Regions from separate parts of the Homo sapiens genome. Here all the other regions are linked to region 6. The links are contacts of gene promoters, found by promoter capture Hi-C in blood cells and fetal thymus (Javierre and others, 2016). All regions are on one chromosome and are shown on one strand. The core of a region is centred on a gene start or on the middle of the fragment in contact, and the rest is flanking DNA. Distances in the headings are between cores, read along the strand shown.

Evidence for each region. Contacts are between HindIII fragments. The CHiCAGO score rates a contact against its expected background, and 5 or more counts as called.
Region 1: a fragment that was not itself captured here is called in contact with the fragment with the promoter of ZNF648 in region 6 in 11 of 17 cell types (naive CD4 T cells, M0 macrophages, M1 macrophages and 8 more); the score reaches 11.3 in naive CD4 T cells.
Region 2: a contact is called between a fragment that was not itself captured here and the fragment with the promoter of ZNF648 in region 6, in 1 of 17 cell types (total B cells). The highest score is 5.3, in total B cells.
Region 3: a fragment that was not itself captured here is called in contact with the fragment with the promoter of ZNF648 in region 6 in 1 of 17 cell types (erythroblasts); the score reaches 5.9 in erythroblasts.
Region 4: a contact is called between a fragment that was not itself captured here and the fragment with the promoter of ZNF648 in region 6, in 1 of 17 cell types (erythroblasts). The highest score is 5.0, in erythroblasts.
Region 5: a contact is called between a fragment that was not itself captured here and the fragment with the promoter of ZNF648 in region 6, in 1 of 17 cell types (neutrophils). The highest score is 6.3, in neutrophils.
Region 7: a contact is called between a fragment that was not itself captured here and the fragment with the promoter of ZNF648 in region 6, in 5 of 17 cell types (M2 macrophages, endothelial precursors, M0 macrophages and 2 more). The highest score is 7.7, in M2 macrophages.

The regions. Positions count from the first base shown.
Region 1 is chr1:181,488,190-181,490,889 of GRCh38, forward strand. The region is part of intron 1 of CACNA1E (calcium voltage-gated channel subunit alpha1 E); the gene reads left to right. Among named protein-coding and RNA genes, the nearest start is that of CACNA1E, 6.0 kb to the left of the region's middle. The HindIII fragment of the contact is 1,138 bases long and covers 804-1,941 here.
Region 2 is chr1:181,447,231-181,449,930 of GRCh38, forward strand. It overlaps a transcript of CACNA1E not described here. Among named protein-coding and RNA genes, the nearest start is that of CACNA1E, 35 kb to the right of the region's middle. The HindIII fragment of the contact is 3,369 bases long and covers 1-2,700 here.
Region 3 is chr1:182,628,796-182,631,495 of GRCh38, forward strand. No RefSeq gene overlaps it. Among named protein-coding and RNA genes, the nearest start is that of LINC01686, 15 kb to the left of the region's middle. The HindIII fragment of the contact is 178 bases long and covers 1,320-1,497 here.
Region 4 is chr1:182,595,836-182,598,535 of GRCh38, forward strand. No RefSeq gene overlaps it. Among named protein-coding and RNA genes, the nearest start is that of RGS16, 7.2 kb to the right of the region's middle. The HindIII fragment of the contact is 2,709 bases long and covers 1-2,680 here.
Region 5 is chr1:181,516,449-181,519,148 of GRCh38, forward strand. All of the region lies in intron 3 of CACNA1E (calcium voltage-gated channel subunit alpha1 E), which reads left to right. Among named protein-coding and RNA genes, the nearest start is that of CACNA1E, 34 kb to the left of the region's middle. The HindIII fragment of the contact is 1,390 bases long and covers 704-2,093 here.
Region 6 is chr1:182,060,398-182,063,097 of GRCh38, forward strand. It overlaps ZNF648 (zinc finger protein 648), which reads right to left and starts at 1,315. Exons shown (of 2, transcript NM_001009992.1): 1 at 1,171-1,315. The HindIII fragment of the contact is 14,548 bases long and covers 1-2,700 here.
Region 7 is chr1:181,465,377-181,468,076 of GRCh38, forward strand. It overlaps a transcript of CACNA1E not described here. Among named protein-coding and RNA genes, the nearest start is that of CACNA1E, 17 kb to the right of the region's middle. The HindIII fragment of the contact is 1,151 bases long and covers 710-1,860 here.

The DNA of each region.
Region 1 (2,700 bases), core at 123-2,622, 570 kb before region 6:
TTTTCTTCTGCTTTTGTTGCCTATAAATGTATAGCACATTGCAGGATAGTAGACTGAGGTCCCGGTAAGAATTTCAGGTTTGATGTAACTAGTGAATCATGAGTCAAGATGCCTTGATTAGGGAAGATGATGGCAGCTAACAAGGATGAAGTCTGTAATTATATCCTATGATCAGATAATGCAGAGGGGTTCATATCTTCTGTGTACCTGTGCGTGGATGCAGATGGTGAAACAGATAGTGACTGCAGCTGGTACTGGAGCTGTAGGAGAAAGTTCTTCATTTTCTGAGCATCCCAGGACAATCTCTGAATTGCCTGTTGGCTTTGCTTTTGATATGAAGTGTGGGTAATGTTTCATGTGGAAACCAGGCCATGACTTGTTGTGGGGACCATTTATAATTGGGATGAAGCCTGAAAAATGAGTTGGAGTGAAGGAATTTGACAGAAATGAAATGACTTGAGGATAGAGACAAAAATATCCTCAATGTGATAGTTTTGTCTGTTGGTTTGCATGTCATTATTTCTCCACTTCCCTCCACTTGCTTTTTCTGCAATAGGCGCAGTGCATGCTATGAATTAAAGGAGGAAGAGGAAAGTAATGAGAACAGGCCTGCTTTTTTTTTCTTCTGAAACATCCAGACTCTGAAATTATTAGCTCCATCCAAAATTACTTATCTCTTTATAGCACTGCTGTACAAAATGTAGGTGTTTTTCCCCCTCAAATTCTGCTGCTTTCCCCCTTCTTTATAGGAACATCTGGTTTCTTTCAATCTTCATATTCTTAGTGAAAATAAAACTGAGTGAAGCTTTGCTAAGCTCTCAGAACTCTTGCAAACCCTTGACTCCATGTGTTTGATGAGCAGGTCAGCCACCTCCCTTACGTCATGCACAGGGCTGCCTGGAAAGCTACAGCTCACCAAACACCAAAGCCCAGATGTGCAATCCAGTCCATCAATGGTGACTCTGCTGATCTTATTTTGCTTATCACTGACCACAAAGACATAAAAGAGGAAACCTAAATGCAACTCTAATTAATATCCATTTATTCAGAGAGAGAGAGAGACCAGGTCTTTACTTTCTCTTTCTGCCCGTCTTTTCATCTTTCTATATTTCTCCCTCTCTCATTTTTAGGTTCAGCCTTTGTGAATAATTCATTATATGTGTGGGTTTTTCCTAGGATTTTCAGAAAAGGAAGGTTATTTGTCTTCCTCTTGGGTAGGATTATTAAGGTCTCTCACAGAGGACCAACTTCAGGAATCTACTTTTTCTCTAAGACCTTTGTTTTCTGCAGTGGGACTGTCACACAACAGAAAGGAAGCTGGGGAGAAATCTTGTAACCTGCTTTTTCTTGTCATTTTTATGATGACTGCCTCCTACCCAGCCCTGTTACATTTGAGTGCCCCCAAAATATGCAACTACTAGCCTTTTCTACTCAGAGACTGTGGTTAAGTGGAAGGTACGTGTCACTCTGAATCCTCTCATCATCTTGGGTTTTCACACTGATAAATGCTGAACGACTAGGCTAAGGAACAGTCCTCTGTAACCATTTCTTTTCAAATTCCAGTGTGAATTTTTACAGGAATTACAGGGAGCAGGGGTAGTTATGGGGACCAGGCATGGAAATTAGTGTCTAACACTCCGCCACCACTACCACCACCACGATGTGGCTTCTAAAGCAGTCCCTTCCACAGAGGGATAGAAACATGAGGGGCTTGGATCAATGTTACTTTTCCCAAGCCTTCTAAACATGCACAGAGAGGATGCACGTGTGGGTTCACCCATCAGTCATGTTTCCAGCATCAATCTTAATTAAGGACAGAAGGTATAGCACAAAGTTTTTAGACTCCCCCAACCTCGTGGTTTCTTAGTGTTAAGGTTATTGCAGAGAGATGTTTATGGTGTATCTTTGCTCACTGAGCACCCCAAATATGTTTCCTTATAAAGCTTGACGAGCCCCAGTGTCCTCATCTCTGGAAAGCAGGGAGCAGCTAGAAGATGTGTTCTTATAAGGTGAAGATGGGCCAGATTAAGGGGAACAGCAATGAATGACTTTAAAATGTGTCGGTTATCCAAGAGATCCTCCCTGCCACCTCCCAGAGCAGTGGGTACTTCTTAGGAGCTTCCTTTATTGTATCTTGAGCTCCAAATTTGTAGGACTAGATAGTTCCACCCTTAATCCTCTTACTTATTAAAAAAAAAAAAAGGAGCCTCAAATAGACCCATTTGTAAAGCAGTAGTTAATCCCAGAAGCAGGTGGGTGGGGCTTGGGAATGCTATGCCCAGCTAGGCTCCAGCCACGCTCCAGCCACGTGAGGCTTCAGAGAGAGGCCCTGCCTGGCACCTGTGCCAAGCATGTTTTTTTTTTTTTTTTTTGCCTGTGGGTGGTTGATTTGAATCACTGTTGCAACTCTGCATAATCTTGAGGCTATATTTTTGTGTGTGTGCTGCATTTTGTCTTTTGCTGCATTTTTGCTGCATTTGGGCTGCATCGGTTCTCTTCATCTCTGGAGAATTTGGAAAGCCTCCTTCAGATATATGCCTGAGCTTTCCAAAGACTTGTGTCATTAAAGGGGGGTGTCATCTTTCTTCCCTTTGGGGGAGGGATTAAAAAGGATGTAGCTGGATGGTAGGTAGCAGGCTAGAGGGGAAAGGAAGAAGTGCTCTGGTGTAGATCATGGGTGGAGCCTTGATGATACTCAGT
Region 2 (2,700 bases), core at 188-2,687, 610 kb before region 6:
AAAAGTTAAATCTAGACTGGGCATGGTGGCTCATGCCTTCATTCCCAGAGCTTTGGGAGGCCAAGGTGGGAGGATCATTTGAAGCTAGGAATTTGAGACCAGCTGGGCAACATAGCAAGACCTCATCTCTAAAAAAAAAAAAGAAAAAAAAAATTAGCCAGGCATGGTGGTGTGCCTGTAGTCCCAGTTATCCAGGAGCCTGAGGTGGGAGGATGGCTTGAGCCCAGGAGTTCAAGGCTGCAGTGAGATATGATTGCACCTCTGTACTCCAACTTGGGCAACAGAGTGAGACCATCTCTTAAAAAGAAAAAAAAAAAAAGCAGTTAAATCTACGTATAGATAGTAAAGTGTTTTAGTTTTTCTGTTACTGCCTTTACAAATGACCACAAATTTAGTAGTTTAAAAAAACTCCAAATTTATTATCTTACAATTCTGTAAAGCAGAGACCTGGTATGGGCCTCCCCAGGCTAAAATTAAGGTGTGGGCAGACTGTGTTCCTTTCTGGAGGCTCTCAGGGAGAACGTATTTCCTGCTCCTTCTGGCTGTTGGCAGAAGTCAAGTCTTGTGGCTGTAGGGTCGCAGTTTCCTTCCCTTGCTGGCTGTAACCTAAGGGCTCTTTCATGCTTCTGGAAGCTGCTGCATTCCTTGGCTTGTGGCCTCTTCTCTCCATCTTCAAAGCCAGTAATAGCGGGTGGGGTCTTTCTCATGCTCTGTCTTTTGAACTCACTCTTTTCTCTTCATCTCTGCTTTTAAGAGCTGGTGTGATTAGATAAGAGATTATGTAATTAGTCAGACCATGATAATCCATGATAAATCTCTTCATTTTAAGGTCAGCTGATTAGCGACCTCAATGCCATCTGCAGTCTTAGTTCCCGTAATTTACAGGTTCTGGGGATTATGATGTAGACATCTTTGAGGGGGACATTATTCTGTGTACCACATATGATTTCTTCATTAAACACAATACATGTAATTTAAATTCTAGAGGTTACAATGGGGAGGAGGTAAATTAGCTTTTTTTGAGCACCTACTGTATGCCAAACCTCATGCTAGATCTGCACATGCATCCCCTCATTCTAACATCTCAACAACCAGATGAGATAGATACTATCCTTGTTTGATGATGAGTTAACTGAGGTTTAGAGAAATTAACTAACTTTCCTGAAGTCCAAAAGCTAGTAAACGTAGGAGTCAGGACTCAAGCTCAGGTGGCTAAGATTCCAAATCTGAATGTTTCTCTTTCCACCACATCATATTTTTTCTCCTGGGATCTCAACTAAAAGCCTCAGAAGTAATCACTTATTTAAATGTATGTGTTTCCTCCAGGTTCGTTATAGTCTGTTTGAAGTCTGAGTTTGACGTAGATAGATTACTCATTTCCCCTACTCCAGCCTCTGATAAGCAGCAGACCAATTGTATATTACCACAACCTGGGAAAAGAGAGATAACTGATAAAGTGAAGAGACTTTGTCTCAAGGCCTTTGGTGGGGCTGAGCTCTAAGTCAACTAAGTGGCTTAAAGTGGAACCAGGCATCTTATCCCTGCAGGGCCTCCCCTGGGTGTGACAGGTGGAGGGCATACCAGTCGGAAAGCTGGTCCAAGCCTCCTCTGTCCTGCTCATCTCAGCTGCCTGGGACTCTGCAGAGAGGCTGCCTGGGACTCTGCAGAGAGGCTGCCTTTGGTCAATTCAAGCTGCCCCAGCCAGCACGGTTGACTGGCACAGAACGGCCTGGAGTGGCTGTGCCAACTCAGTCATAATGGGAGGAGCTGTGCAGAGAAAGACCTTCCAGGAATTGAGGGTGCAAGGAGATAGGATGGGGCAGATATGAGCGGCAAGTTTGGTGGGGCCATTGGCAGGGCCACATCTGGAGGCCTCCCATTCTGTGAAACACCCCAGCAGTGTGTTAATTGATTTATTTTGAGTGCAGTTTGTTTGGATGTGGGTAGACTATTGATGCTGTGGCACTTTGGAAGCTCACGTTTCCAAGCCAGAGATACTTCATTTGTGTCTGAATGAGAAAAATCTCAAGATACATGCCGTTCCATCCCTGAGATGCCTGCCACAGTACCAACTCATGGAGGCTGCAGTTACTTCAGTCTCATATACACATATATGTGTGCTCACATACACACTTTTAAATAATGTGATCGGCTTATGTCCTGCTTCAGTATTCTTGCTCTTTTCTTCCAATTTGGGTACTGCTCTGACAGGCTGGCAGCACACCACAATTCTGTCTTTGCACATTGATTGACCTGACTCTGACATATCAGGATTGCAAATTACTAACTTGCTTTTAGGCCCTGGCTCCTGAGGAATTTATAATGTCTATTGGGATCTCTTCTCCCCCTTAGCTTCTGCATTGAGAGTCAGAAGTGTGCATGAAGTGGTGTTGGCTTCTTTCTGTTTGTATCCAGGAGGGTGGGAGGCCCCAGGAGAGCAGACATCTGGGGCTTCTTTCTGTTGCACTGCCAATGCCTATCCACAGATGACCTTATGTGAAGGTGCTAGGCTGTGAATTCCTTTGTTTTATTTCAGGAAACATTGATTAAACATCTATTTTGGATATTCAAAGACAAAAAATGACCAACTTATTTCTCAATTAAAATGGCAAATGCAATATAGTGTTATCATTGCTATGGGGAGTGGTTGGGAAATATAAGGTATTATAGGGGCACAGGGGCACATAGGAGGGTGCCTAT
Region 3 (2,700 bases), core at 159-2,658, 570 kb after region 6:
TTATGGAAATTGTGGCTGCTTGAACTGGCCTCTGAGAAACCCTTGAAAGGCCTCTGGGGGCAATGGTGAGGTCCAGCCAACAGCACCCTGGCCTCCCTCCTCCTCTCCTACCTTCTCTGCCTCTCCTTTCTTCTACCTCCACCTTAATCAAAGCAGCTCCCTTTTCATTTTAGGTATTGGAGTTTTAACTAAAATTTTCTTTAACAAAAGGATTTCCACCCTTTTAAAAATCTCTCCACTGAACTGTAAATTCCTTGAAGATAGGAATCATGTATATATTATTCTCCTTTATATCTTTAGCTATATACAGTGCCTGTGTACATTGTGAACACTCAATAGAAACTTTTAATTGAAATAAATCAACCCAAACGTGGACTGGAAAGATGGGCTTTGTTCAATTTAGCCAAATCTTACATAAGATGTATTCCTGAGTGTCCAATCTGGGTCAGGCTCCAGTGAATGGAGAAAGGCTCCTATTGGGAGTGAGATCAGAGGCCTTCTCCTGCAGCTGGCTCCATAGGAAGCAGTAATAAAAGCATCGCCTTGCTCTTATGTAACCTTTTACTATTTATAAAACACTTTCATATACCTTATCTCAAAAAAGAGCTCCCAAATATCTTCCCTACTCACAAAGACACAAAGACAAGCAAATATCCCAGAGTTTCAAACATAAGGAGGGTAGGGGAGAGAAGACAGGCCGCATTTTCAACCAGGACAAAATTCAGCTCCTCTTGCATGGTGAGCAGGGCACCCAAAGGGCCTTGTGATTAAACTCTTCCTTCTCTCCCAAATTCTGACTGATGCTTAAAATCTCACCAACTGTTATCCCCAACTTGGTGTAACTGAGGCTTTTGTCTCAGCTAAATGCAAATGTGGCTGTTGTGATGGGCACACATTAGTCACCCTCCATTTACCACATAGTGTGGCAGGATTGGCTCTGTGGAAAGGTCAGTAATGAATGGCAGGGATATTTCTAACTGAGCTGGGGACCTCCAGAGCCACCTTGCCCTCTGAAGTCTCATAACTGTGCCCTGGTCAAAATCCGCAGACACCACCCCCGCCTCTGAGTTAGACAGGCAGGGGTGACCTAAGATACAGGATGCCCTTACTTCCTGTCTGTGGCAGCGGGCAACACCCACCACCATCAGTCACCTCCACCCCCACTCCTGGTTTCTGCACCCACATTTTCACTGTTTATCTCTGGATAACCCCATCTGACCTAAGAAACTGTGGCAAGTCTGTTTCTTACCTAGAAAATGAATATTTGGAGACATTCAATGGTTAGATACTGTGAAGATTTTTTTTTTAAGTATATAAAAAGCTTAATTAGCACCCTGGCCAGCACATAATGGGTGTTCAGTATATCTCTGTTTTGAAAATAAATGGCAGAATTCACTCCAGGCTTCCTGTCTGTCCCACAGACCGAATCATGCTGCTGGACTGGGCTAAGTCACATTTTTGATAAAAAGAGGTAACTTTCTCCAGCCAAGCCTAACAAGCTTTAAAAGGCCTATGGTTTATAAAATCACCAGTGCCCCTCATCAGCCCTCTCCCCCAGTTTCCCTCACCATCAGGGCTCTCCAGAATTGCTGTTCAGTGATCTCTTTTCCCTCCTGGGACTGCTCTGATTGTCCTATTTCCTTGGTTCCATGTGGCACACGGTTGAGAAAAGAGGCACCTGTGCGTGTGACTTGTCACATCTTTTCCCAGCGTTCTGCTCCCATGGATATGGGGCTCAGGAGGCATGGTTGGGAATCAGGAAACTGCTTCCAACCCCATGACAAATGTCACCTATCTGTCCTACCAATTTGTCAGCATTGAAACTCAAAGTGACACTTTCCTGCCAAATCTAGATAAAGCCATTTCCACTCCAGTCGGAGTGAGTGTACCAGCCAATCTCCCAGAGGGAAACTAGGGTTCTGGAGAGGATATGGGGTTCAGATTCAGCAAATGTTTTTGGAATGTCCACTCTGTGCCCAGCATTGTGTTGGTTGTGAGTATGTGTGCTTAGTTTACATTCCAAGCATTCCAAGTTGCATTACACAGATGAGAAAAGCAGGGCTCAGTAAGGCTAATTAACTTGCCCACCTACAGCCAGTGAGTGAGAATCTCAAGATTTTACAAGATTTTATAGCTCCAAGTTCCAATCCAAGATACTTTCCATTAAGCCCATGGATGTCATTTCAGGTGCAACCTCAGACCACCTTCTCCAGTATCCTCCTAGAATATTACAGATCACACAGTCTCTCTCCCCTCTGAACACCAAGAGCATGGCCATGTGTCCTTTCCACCTGTGAGTGAGCCTCACAAAGGACTGGAAGCTACCTAGGCTCAAGAGTTGTGCCTTCTTTCATCCACTGATGGAATGCAGGGCACACAGGAAAACAAGAGTGTACTGGGGGCACTGAATAGTCTCAAAGCCTTCTCATATATCCTGTTCCCACAACTCTGTAACATAGGACAGGGAAGATTTATTTGCTCTGGGGTGGAGCAGGAGGGTAGAGGAAGGGAGGGAAGAAATGGAAGGAAGTTAGTGGGCAATTTAGGATTCAGCCCTAAAGGATCAAAGCACTAAGAATCCTGAATTATGGGAAGCATGATAAGGTCCCTGCTTGGCTAGGAGAATAGAGAGATTAACTTTATTTTTGAACACCTACTGGATGACAGCTAGTGCATTAGTAGGTCATGATGTACATTATC
Region 4 (2,700 bases), core at 76-2,575, 540 kb after region 6:
AGGCAGTAGAGGGTGAGAGACAAGCAGCCTCGCACAGTCACAGGGCACATATTTGAAAACAGCGTTGGCTGACCTGGTTTCCAGGAATCCCATGGTCCCTCTAATACCCTGGCTTACTTAATGCCTCCAGCCTTCCATTTCTTTTTCTGAAATTCTGGAATGCTGTAAACATCAGACAAAATATGGTACTGAAGCAGCTAAAAAAAAAAGTAGATTTAGAATCCTGAGTTGAAATTCTGATCCTGCCATTTTATTCAAGAAGTCAAAAGACTTTTTGACTTGACTAATGCCTACTGTATACAAATCACTGTGCTAAGTACTGGGAATCAGATAATAATAATAGCCAATAGTCATGAGGCATTAACATTGTGCCGCACACTTTTATTTCATTCAGTGTTCCCTGTGACGCTTACTCTTATTATCCTCATTTTACAGCTGAGGCTTAAGCAACTTTCCAAGGTGAATGGCCAGGATTCCAACCCAACATTCCGGCTCCACAGCTGGGACTGGAGAACTGCTTTGCTGTAGTCTGTTCTGCCCCATCTCACCAAGGTGAATAATATGACCCTGACTTTGAAGAGCTCAGTTTAATAGGAGAGCAAAAGCCATGAAGAAAGAAGTTATGGAGGAATACCATATGTGCTACAATCAAAGTAAGAACACTGTGTCTTAGAATCATGCAAGTTGGGAGCAATTAACTCTGTACAGGGACATCTGGGAAGGCTTCACTGAGGAGGTGATGTTTTTGCTGGATTTTGAAAGTTGGCATTCTCCTCCTCGCACCTCAACCCCCAATTTTTTCTAAAAAAGAGGAGAAAGAGGTGTTCTAGGCAGAGAGAACAGCATGTGTAGCCACAAAAAAAAAAAAAGAGAGAGAGAGAGAAGGGAAAAGTCTGAGAATGAAGGCTGTCCAGGCAGGAGATACGTCTGGAGAGGGACTTGGGTCAGGTCAGAGACCCCCTTGTGTGTCAGGATTAAAGCTGGACTTTATTTTAGAGTCAAAAGTGAACCGCTGAGGGGTTCTAACGTAGCCACAAAGTGCTCAGATCTGTGCTTTAGAGCTGAAGACTGGCACAGTGTGGAAAATGAACCAGCACAGGGAGAGGCTGGGGTAGGGAGACCCGCCGGGAAATTGTGGTATCTGATTGGAGAGGATGAGAGAGTCCTCTAAGGAAGCCTTGGTGAGCCTGTGCAGAAGCTGGACCCAACGCATTTGGGTCTGAGGGATTTCGATGCACTCAATACATGCATGTTAAAGGCATAAAGATGGAAGGAGAGCAGTAGGAAAGGGCGAGTGTTAGTACCTCCCTGTCTTTCTGGGTCCTCCGCTCTTCCTTCCCTTATCAGTCACATTCCTCCACCCATCTTTCACAGACTGGACTCCCCATGGCATAACTGAGTTCAGATCCCCATTCTGCCACTCACTGGCTGGCTGCCCCAAGCATGTCCCTCCCTCTCAGAGCTTGTTTCCTTCTCTGGATGATAAAGTGTTCAGACCCACTCCACAGAGCTGTTGTAAGGACTAACAGAGCTCAGGGCCTGCCACAGTGTTGGTCCCTGTCTTCCTTCCCAGGCCCTTAATTTCAGGATCCTCCCTGGTGTCACCCACAGAATCCCTCCTTAGATCTGTGCTTAAGATGTGATTCTATGGGGATTTCTACCCCATGTTCCTGAAGTCTGATCACTTTACTCAGACTATCAATAGGGAAGAAATAAAGGTTCATTTAAGGTCCAGATCTGTGTATAAACAGATCATTCAACAGAGAAGAAAACATTTTTTTAAGTAGTCGTAATCAGAAAAAAATGAGAGGGATTCAGTAGGATGAAAAAGGAGAACAAGCAGGCAATTAGCAGAGGAAGAACAGATTTTGATCCTTGCAAACCTACCCCCAGGGTCTCACTGTGTCCCCCAGGCTGGAGTGCGGTAGAGTGATCTCAGCTCATGGCAGCCTTGACCTCCCCAGCATAAGCCATCCTCCCACCTCAGTCTCCCAAGTAGCTGGGACTACAGGCATGTGCCACCACACTCTGCTAATGTTTGACTTTTTGTAGAAACTGGGTTTTGCCATGTTGCCCAGCCTGGTCTTGAGCTCCTGGGCTTAAGTGATCCACCCTCCTCAGCCTCCCTCCCTCAGTGCTCACAGGCATGAGCCACCGCGCCTGTCTCCGTACCCCCAAATTCTTTCAAGCACAGTTCAACCCTTATTCCCTTGGCCCATGGAATGGAGCAGCCTCATGTACAGAGTGGCTTCATATACCTCATCTCAGATACTTCTATGAAATTATAAAAAGAATAATAATTTCTTGAATATAAATTACAAAAGATTTGTAATTGAATTTAATTACAAATTACTTTTAAAAGTAAAAATCCTACAAAAGTCACCACCTAACTGATGATGTCTTGCTACTTGACCAAGGGGTACTGACCCCTGCACTGTTACAGGCAGAATTGGAAATGGCTCATGCCGAGTCCCAGCCAGGTGGGCAAAAGATACGGGCTCTGAAATGACAGTGGGCTGAGCCCAGTCCAATCCACACAACAGCCCAACACAAGTGGGGCTGTCACGAGCTTAAAAAGTCACTGATCATAGCAGCCTCGTTAGAACCTATCCCTTCTCTTGACTCTGGCAGGTACCAGGTGAATATCAAGCTCTCCCTGTACTTCTGCCTGTGCCATGGAAGCTTACTCGCCTGTCCTGT
Region 5 (2,700 bases), core at 149-2,648, 540 kb before region 6:
ATTTTACAGATGAAGAAGCCAAGGCACAGACAATTTAACTTGTCCAAATCCAAATGGTTGGTATAAGGTAAAGTCAGAATTTGAACCCAGGCCAGTTTGCCTTTAGCACCTGGGCACCTTCCCTAGGCCAAGTGATGTCACTGCCTCAGACTCAGCGACAGCACCAGCTGTTCCTGTGCTGCTGGAGCAATTTAGTCTCCTTTCCCTATTTCCCTTGTGTCTCTTTGGGTTCAGGCCAAATGGAGAAAAGTGTGTTATCCCTTTCCATCTAGGAAGTCTTTGTTTTCCATTGTATGTTAAAGTATTGGTGACATTACAGAGCTAGTCTTGAGTGTTGGTAATATTGTCTATTTTCCTAAGAAAACCCCCAAATCAGCTCAAAATATGCTCTTTCCTGAGTTTTGTCAGCCTTGCGTGGGAGGTGACCTGCGTTGGCTCTTCCCTTTACTGCGGAGCACATGGTGTAGACTCTGGGGAGGGGCAGGTGTGTCTGTGCCTGGCTCTTCCTCCTTCCTCTGCCAAGGTCATCACCCCAGGGCCTAGGAGGCCCCTCAAGAGCTATTGCTGAATACCCACTGTGTGCCAGGTACTGTGTTTGGTGTGGGTGGAATGGGGCCTAGTGTCTTCCATGGTGGTGGGGGCTGGAGCCACGCAACATGAGAACGTGAAAGGGTGTCCAGCCTGGCCCTGGGGCACTGGGGAAAGCTTCTTGAAAGAAGTCACATTTAAACAAGTGGAAAGGATGGACAGATGGAACTTAGCTGGGCAGGGAAGGAGAAGAGCCCTTCTGGGAGAAAGAATGCTATGTACAAATGCCCTGTGGGGGTGGCACATGGAGAGAGGCACACAGACAGACCACAGGACACTTCTGGAAGCCTGGCAGGTGGCATGGGGAGAGACCTGCAGAGGTCAGCAGGGGCCAGTCTAGGCCATTCTGAGTAGTCTGTACTTTAACCAGAGGGCAGTGGGGAGCCACGGAAGGCTTTGAGCAGGGGGTTCACTATTTCACTGTTTCACTCTGAGTCTGCTCTGGATGTGGCACAACTCTTTTTTCTTTTTTACCCTGGAATCAACTCTGAGGAAAGCCATGGAAAAAAGTTGGAGCCATCTCCACATCCTTAGCTGCAGTTTGGGAGAATGTGCAGAGCCAAGCAGAAAGAGGGGAGGCAGAGGAAAAGGGAGCAGGGGAGAGGAGAGCCAGGGAGTGCTGCAGTAAAGCTGGGAGCTGCCGTCCTCATCCCCAGCTTCTCGCCAGTGGCACATGCAGAACGATTTAGCCTGAAGCCTGTTGGTAGGAGGATGCTATCTAGAGCTAAATATATATTGATAGGTATTTTTAGAGGGTTTTCTGTAAAGAGGCTGCCCTAATACAAGAGTTTCCTGAGCAGCTAAAGATCGAGGAAAGCAGAGTTTTCCTCAGCACTGTCTCTCTGAGGCTGAGAATGTGGGGGAAGAGTTGTGAATGCAGTCCTCAGGCCCCCAGCCCAATTTGAATCCCTGTGGTAATAGTATGATATCAGTGGGTATTTATATAGCATCACCAGGCCAGTGAGCCTGGCGGGACCTCAGAGACCTGTCTTTTACTTGTCCTTACTGTTCTGGGCAGGTGAAGGATGCAGATGGGGAGCAAGGGCAGAATGGGTAGAGGGAGGAGACATGAGAACTTGTTATTTAGGAGATGGGGAAACCGAGGCTGAGTGGAGCAAGGCAAGGGACTCAGAGATACTTAGCTGAGCTGCTAGATGAACAGATATTTATTTAGTGCCTTAATGCTAGGCACTAAACCTGGCATCAGCATTATTAATGCTGATGTTGGGGAGGTCTGCAAGCCTGTAAGCCTTACCACTTTTCAGTTCTTCCTCTCAGCATCGTTGCTGGCTGCTCCTCTGACAGATCTCCACCTCCTCCCTGGCTTTTTGTGCATTTCTAGCTCCACACTGGGGAGCACAGCTGCCACTTGCAGCATCTCCTTTTATCAGAACATTATTTCTGTTCCAATTGCATTTCCCCCCAGATGGGCAAATGATGGAAAAGATAAGGTTAGAATATAGGATTTCGATTCCAGGGAGAGGTGGGCAAAAGACAAAATGTGAAGCTTAAAGGTCTCTTCTTAGCTCTGTGCTGCTGATAAATCCAGTTACTTCAGGGAGACTCCTAGTGAGAGTGCCAGTTAGTAGTTGATGGGCAGCTGAGTTGGGATTGTGCCTTGGGTGGGAGGGAATTTTTTCTCATGTATGCACTCTGTCTTTTTTCTATATTGAGATGCACCATTGGTTCACTCAACAGATATATATTGAATATACACTGTGTTCCAGATGTAAGACATTGGTGTTGGGATGGTTTCTGTTTCCTGAAAGGCTTCTTCTTGCCACCCCCACCCATTGACAGAAGCTCCATATGGACAGAACTGAGTGGGGCCTGAATTGGCTTTGATATCACCAAAGAGGAGGAAAAGCCAGAGGGAGTGAAGAAAGCTTCGAAATCCCTGGGTGGTTTGGTTTGGGACTTTATTTGTCTCCTGGCATTGCATTCACTCAGGGTGATACAGGGAAAGAAATTATGGCAAGGTGCTTTCTAAGTCAGACCGTTCTCCTGGGCCTGGAGCTCTCATTTGAAGGCAGTTAAACTCGTGCATTCTTGTGCTTGTGCATGAGTGTATGTGGAAGAGGGAGGTGGGGTGAAAATCCCCAGGTATGTTTT
Region 6 (2,700 bases), core at 65-2,564:
CCTGGTTTCTGCCTGATCATGAGCCCAGTTACCCTGTGTGTATGAAGAGGGAGCAGTATGGAGGAATCCTCACTTTCTGCTCTGGATACAGAAGCCATGGATGGAGGGAGGACACATTGCAGTTGTGACTGGAATTCAGCATCTCACGTCTCTTTGTGCCCTAAAGCCCAGGGACCACTCCTCTTCTCTCACTGCTTCCCTCACCCATCACATGGCAGAGGGTAGCTGGCATGCCTTTTGACAGGAGCCCAGATCTGACATATTTTCAGCATAGTGGATCTTAGGGAGTGAATGTGTAGTTCATAGAGGGGACATACCACTAGCCAACCTCATAGAACTTGCTCAGACCAGCAGGCTTGATCCGGGGCTGTAGGTCCCCCAGCAGGGACAGCAAAGGGATGCTGGATTTGTATGAAACACATGTCTTAGGTCTCTTTCCCTCTTTACGACAACATACTGCCTGTTTCTGTGGCACTGTTCACAGATCACTGACTTTACCCGCTCCCCACCCCACCTCCAGCACAAATACCCCATTTTCCACAGTCTGTGTGTCATTCTTTTCCTCTGGGCCACAGGGGAGCCTCCTTAGGGTGGCACACAGCCCTCCACTAGCTAACCAATCTCCTCTCCAGAGCCCGTCAGGAGACTCTCTTTTCAGATGAGGTATCCCTCCTCCATCTGAAGCCATATCCCCAGTGAATATGTCCTGCTTTCTTCCTCCTGTCGCTGCCACACGCATGCTCTCGACCACCAGGAAGACCTGGAGGCAGGCAGGGGCACAGGGAGGGATTTTCTGGCAAAGTCTGCACAAATATACCTGGTCTGAAAGAGGAACACTGATGCCATGGTATGGCGGGCCTCTCTGCTCCCCAGATGTGCTAGTCCCCAGAGGCTGTCAGAGCAGTCCTTTGCTGGAACTTCCTCTGCACTTGCCAGCCAAGAGTGGACCAAATGCAGCCTTTGACTCCCCAACCTCATACATCCATCAACACTCTGCAGAAGCCTACCCTAAGGGCTTGTTGCAACCCCAGCCCATACCCCTCTTCTTTCCTTCATTCTTTCCAGATTGTACTGAAGTCCATCCTAGGCAGCCGCCTCCTACTTTCTTCTCTGCTCACCGCCTTCAGGCCTTGCTCTCCACTCCTGGCTCACACACAGACGGTTGCTTACCTGGGAAATGCAGACAGCAGTGTGGGGCCTCTGCCCTGGCTTCTGTGACACGTGGGCTCTCAGCAACAGGAACCAGTTAGGTACAAATCAGCAGAGATGGTGTCTCTGTCTCTCACGCTTTGTGTCCAGTCCAGCGGCTGCAGAGAGAGCCTCTGGAGGTGGGGCCAGTGTAATACACTCAACCTTCCTGCCTGCATCCAGAGAGCAGCCTGGGAAATAGAGTGGGGCTGCCCTCTCTCACTGCCTGAACCGATCCTCTGGCTCCCTCTGCTCCTGCCTCCCCTCCCTGCCAAAGCCAGCCTTCCTCCTTCCCTCCTCTCAGTCTTCCTGCAGGTGGCCCTATGCCTCTTGTTCACTTTCACTCCTTCCTTCCACAGAGCAGTCCATCCTTCACTTTAGCCCTGGTATGCCCATGGGCCACATGTCACTTGTGAGCTTCCTGGGTAGCATGCTTTTTCCCTCCTGGAAGGCAGAACAGAGTATTTGGCCTATATGCCCACCTCCCTATTCTAGTACCCACCTTTTGCAGGACTGTGAGTTGCAGAACTGTGAGGGGTTGGGATTCCCAGAATTCTTTGTAGCAGCCCATTCATTGGCTCAAAGATGCCCACAGCCTTTTAACTGGGAGTAGGGGTGCAGGGAGATGGTTTTCTGTCTTATGCATACAGATGCCAGGCCTGTCTGGGGTCTCTTTCCACTTTCAGCATTGATTCCCATGCAGGTTCATTTTGAAGAGAAGGATTGGCCCAAGGTAGAAGACTCAGTACATTCAGAATTTTTACCCACTCAAGTCTAATGTGCATTTATTAGGATGAACATTCAGGGCATTAAAATAGGTGATGGAAGTGTGGTTCCTGTGATGTCACTAGGTGGTCACAAAGTATACTGATTGACAGCACGGTCTGGGTCTGGGTTTGAATCTTACTACTTACTAGCTGTGTGATCTTGGGCAAGTTATTTAACCTCTGTGTGCCTTAGTGTCTCATCTGCAAAACAGGGACCAGGATACTATTGCCATCATGGAAGTTTGGGGAGTATTAAATGAGATAATGCATGTAAGGAGCTTAGTTCGGTGTTTGGAACATAGCAAGTACCCAAAAACGTTAGCTGCTTTCATTGTTATTATTGACGATTTTTAAAAATTTTAAGTTCCGGGATACATGTGCAGGATATGCAGGTTTGTTACATAGGTAAACATGTGCCATGCTGGTTTGCTGCACCTATCAACCCTTCCTTCACCTAGGTATTAAGCCCGGCATGCATTAGCTATTTTTCCTGATGCTCTCTCCACCCCGCACTCCCCCAACTGGCCCCAATATGTGTTGTTCCCCTCCCTGTGTCCATGTGTTCTCACTGTTCAGCTCCCATTTATAAGTGAGAACATGCGGTGTTTGGTTTTCTGTTCCTTTGCCAGTTTGCTGAGGATAATGCCTCCAGCTCCATCCCTGTCCCTGCAAAGGATATGATCCTGTTCCTTTTTATGGCTGCATGGTATTCCATGGTGTATATATACCACATTTTCTTTATCCA
Region 7 (2,700 bases), core at 35-2,534, 600 kb before region 6:
CAATACTAGAAAATTTATCCTACAGATCTTCAAATATTGTCTTTCTGCAGTCTCTATGATCTCTTTATAGAAGTCCCATTAGATATATTTTGGGTCTCTTCATTCTGTCTTCCATGTCTGTTAACTTTAATCATATTTTCTCTATTTTTATCTCCCTGGGCTGTATACTGTGGAGTTTCCTCATATGTGTTTTCCTGTTTACTGACACTCTCCTTAGTTATATATAATCTAATAGTTAACCTATCTATTGCCTTTAATTTCAATGATTATATATTTTATTACAAGAAATTTTGTATTTGCCACTTTTTCAAATTATCTTTTTTTCATTTCATTGCATTCTATTATTTTATTTCTTTACATATCTTTTCTATTATTTCAAGTACTGGAGCTTTAATCTTCTTGTTCTTTGTATTAGCTAACTTATCCTTATGCTGATTATTTCCTTGTGTGCTTCAAAAATTTTGATTACAAGTCATGTTTAGTAGTGCTTGTTTTCCCCATGGAAATGCAGTGTACTCAGGATTGTGAGAGTAGCCTAATAGAGTAGTTTTGTTTGGTTTTCTTACTTGACCCAGGGGTGTTATTTTCTTGGCCTAAGTGTTCCTGAATCCCGCTGAACATGTAAATTCAGCCCATAAATCCATGTCACACACAATCCTGAGTTTTGATTTCTCAGGGTTTTGCTTTTTCTCATTCACTCAGAGACAGAAGCTTCCTTGTTATCTATTTTTGCTGTAGAGTTGATTTTCATGCAGTTTATTTAACTGAAGGTACAGTTCTTTAAGGGTTATAGCTTAGCGCAGAATCTTAGTTCCAACTTCTGTCCACATAAGGTCTAAAGACCTTATCACTTCTCTTGAGTGGACATTAAAACTTACCCATTAGGCTGGGCATGGTGGCTCATGCCTATAATCCCAGCACTTTGGGAGGCCAAGGCTGGTGGATCACTTGAAGCCAGGAGTTTGAGAACAGCCTGGCCAACATGGCAAAACCATATTTCTACTTAAAAAAAAAAAAAAATTAAGCCTTGTGTGGGTGGCGTGTGCCTGTGGTCCCAGCTACTCAGGAGGCTGAGACATGAGAATCGCTTGAGTTTGGGAGGTGGTGGTTGCAGTGAACTGAGATGGGGCCACTGTACTCCAGCTTGGGTGAAAGAGCGAGACTCTGTCTTAAACAAAACAAAAAATAAAACAAAGCAAAGCAAAGCAAAACAAAACAAAACACATAAAAAACCCAACCCATTAAATCTTTGTTACCAGGACTAGTTACTGCCTATGGGACAGCTGCAATTTCAATTCACACGCTTCCTCCTTTGTATTTCAATTCCTCCTAGGGATTTCCTTTTATATCTTTCAAGTTCAGCAATATATCTTTTCAAATATATTTGAAAATATATTTCTGTACTTTATCAGTTTTTCTAGAAATGTGTAGCAAGAGATTTTCTTATTCTGCCATCTTTCTAGTACTGAATCCTTGAATGACTTTTACAAAGAGAATAAAATAGGAAAGCATAAAATAGTCCCTGGGAAATACACACAGTCTTCTAAGACTTGAAACTAGATGTTCCTAATGGAGAGGTTAGTAAGAGTGCCGGACACAGCACAGGGGAAGATTTGAGGAAGGAAGTGGGTGAGAAACAGCAGTGCATTAATGGGCAATTACTTTCTGCCCCCTCAGATGGTACGTGAGTGCTTAGCTAATGGCAGTTCACTTAGAAAAGTGATCATTGGTAAGTCCTTACCAGCAGCTCCCAAAAATATCTTGCCTGAAGTGATCGAGCCTTTTTAGGAAACGAAAGATCAGATTCAGAAAGCAAGGAGATGGTTCTCAAATTCTAGTGAAGACAAATTCTAGAAGAAAAGCTTTCAAAGGGTGTTGTTGACCAGAGAAGCTGAAGGATTCAAGCTTTCTTGTAGCTTTATAAATAAGAAGGGAAAGAAAACAGAATGAAAAGCAGGGGATGAGGGTACACAGGGTTGAGTTGAAAGCATGAGTGTAGGAGTTTTCACTGCAGACATAGCTGATTTGAGGGGGAAACATTGTTTTGCAGGGCTTGTGACCAAATTTCTTAGGATCCAAAGTGTCAGGAGAAATCCTATTTATTTGAAATCTAGTTGATAAGCCTTAAGCTGATTATGTCAGGTTGAGGTCACTTTTTCTTTTCAGCTTGGGTTGTCCCTTCAGACTCTGCTGTCCCTTCAGTTTCTTTTATCTTAAGGCATGGAGCCCTGTGCAGGCCTATGAGACCATCAGAAAAATAGAGGTGCAGCTCTGAGTTCACTCCAACTCTCAAAGGCTGTGACTTACTAGATATGAGGGAGAAAATGAAAGTGTACATAGTGAGGCAAATGCATTCCACTGGGGTTCCTGCATTCCTGGTCATGATGTTGATGAGTCCTATGAGCTAGAGCAATCTATTTAATTATTCTACACCAGGAGTCTCAACTGGGAGGTGATTTGGGCCCCAAGGGTCATTTAGCAATGTTTGGAAACATTTTTGATTGTCACAGCTGAGTGGGGGAAGTATATCTGGTGTCTAGTGGCTACAGGCCAGGGATGCTGCTGAATATCCTACAGTGCAAGGGCATCCCCTATGACAAAGAATTATGTGACTCAGAAATGCCAATAATGCTGAGCTTAAGACACCCTTCTCTACATGTCTTTTCTTATCTGCAACATGGAGGGGTTAGAAGAAGAGGT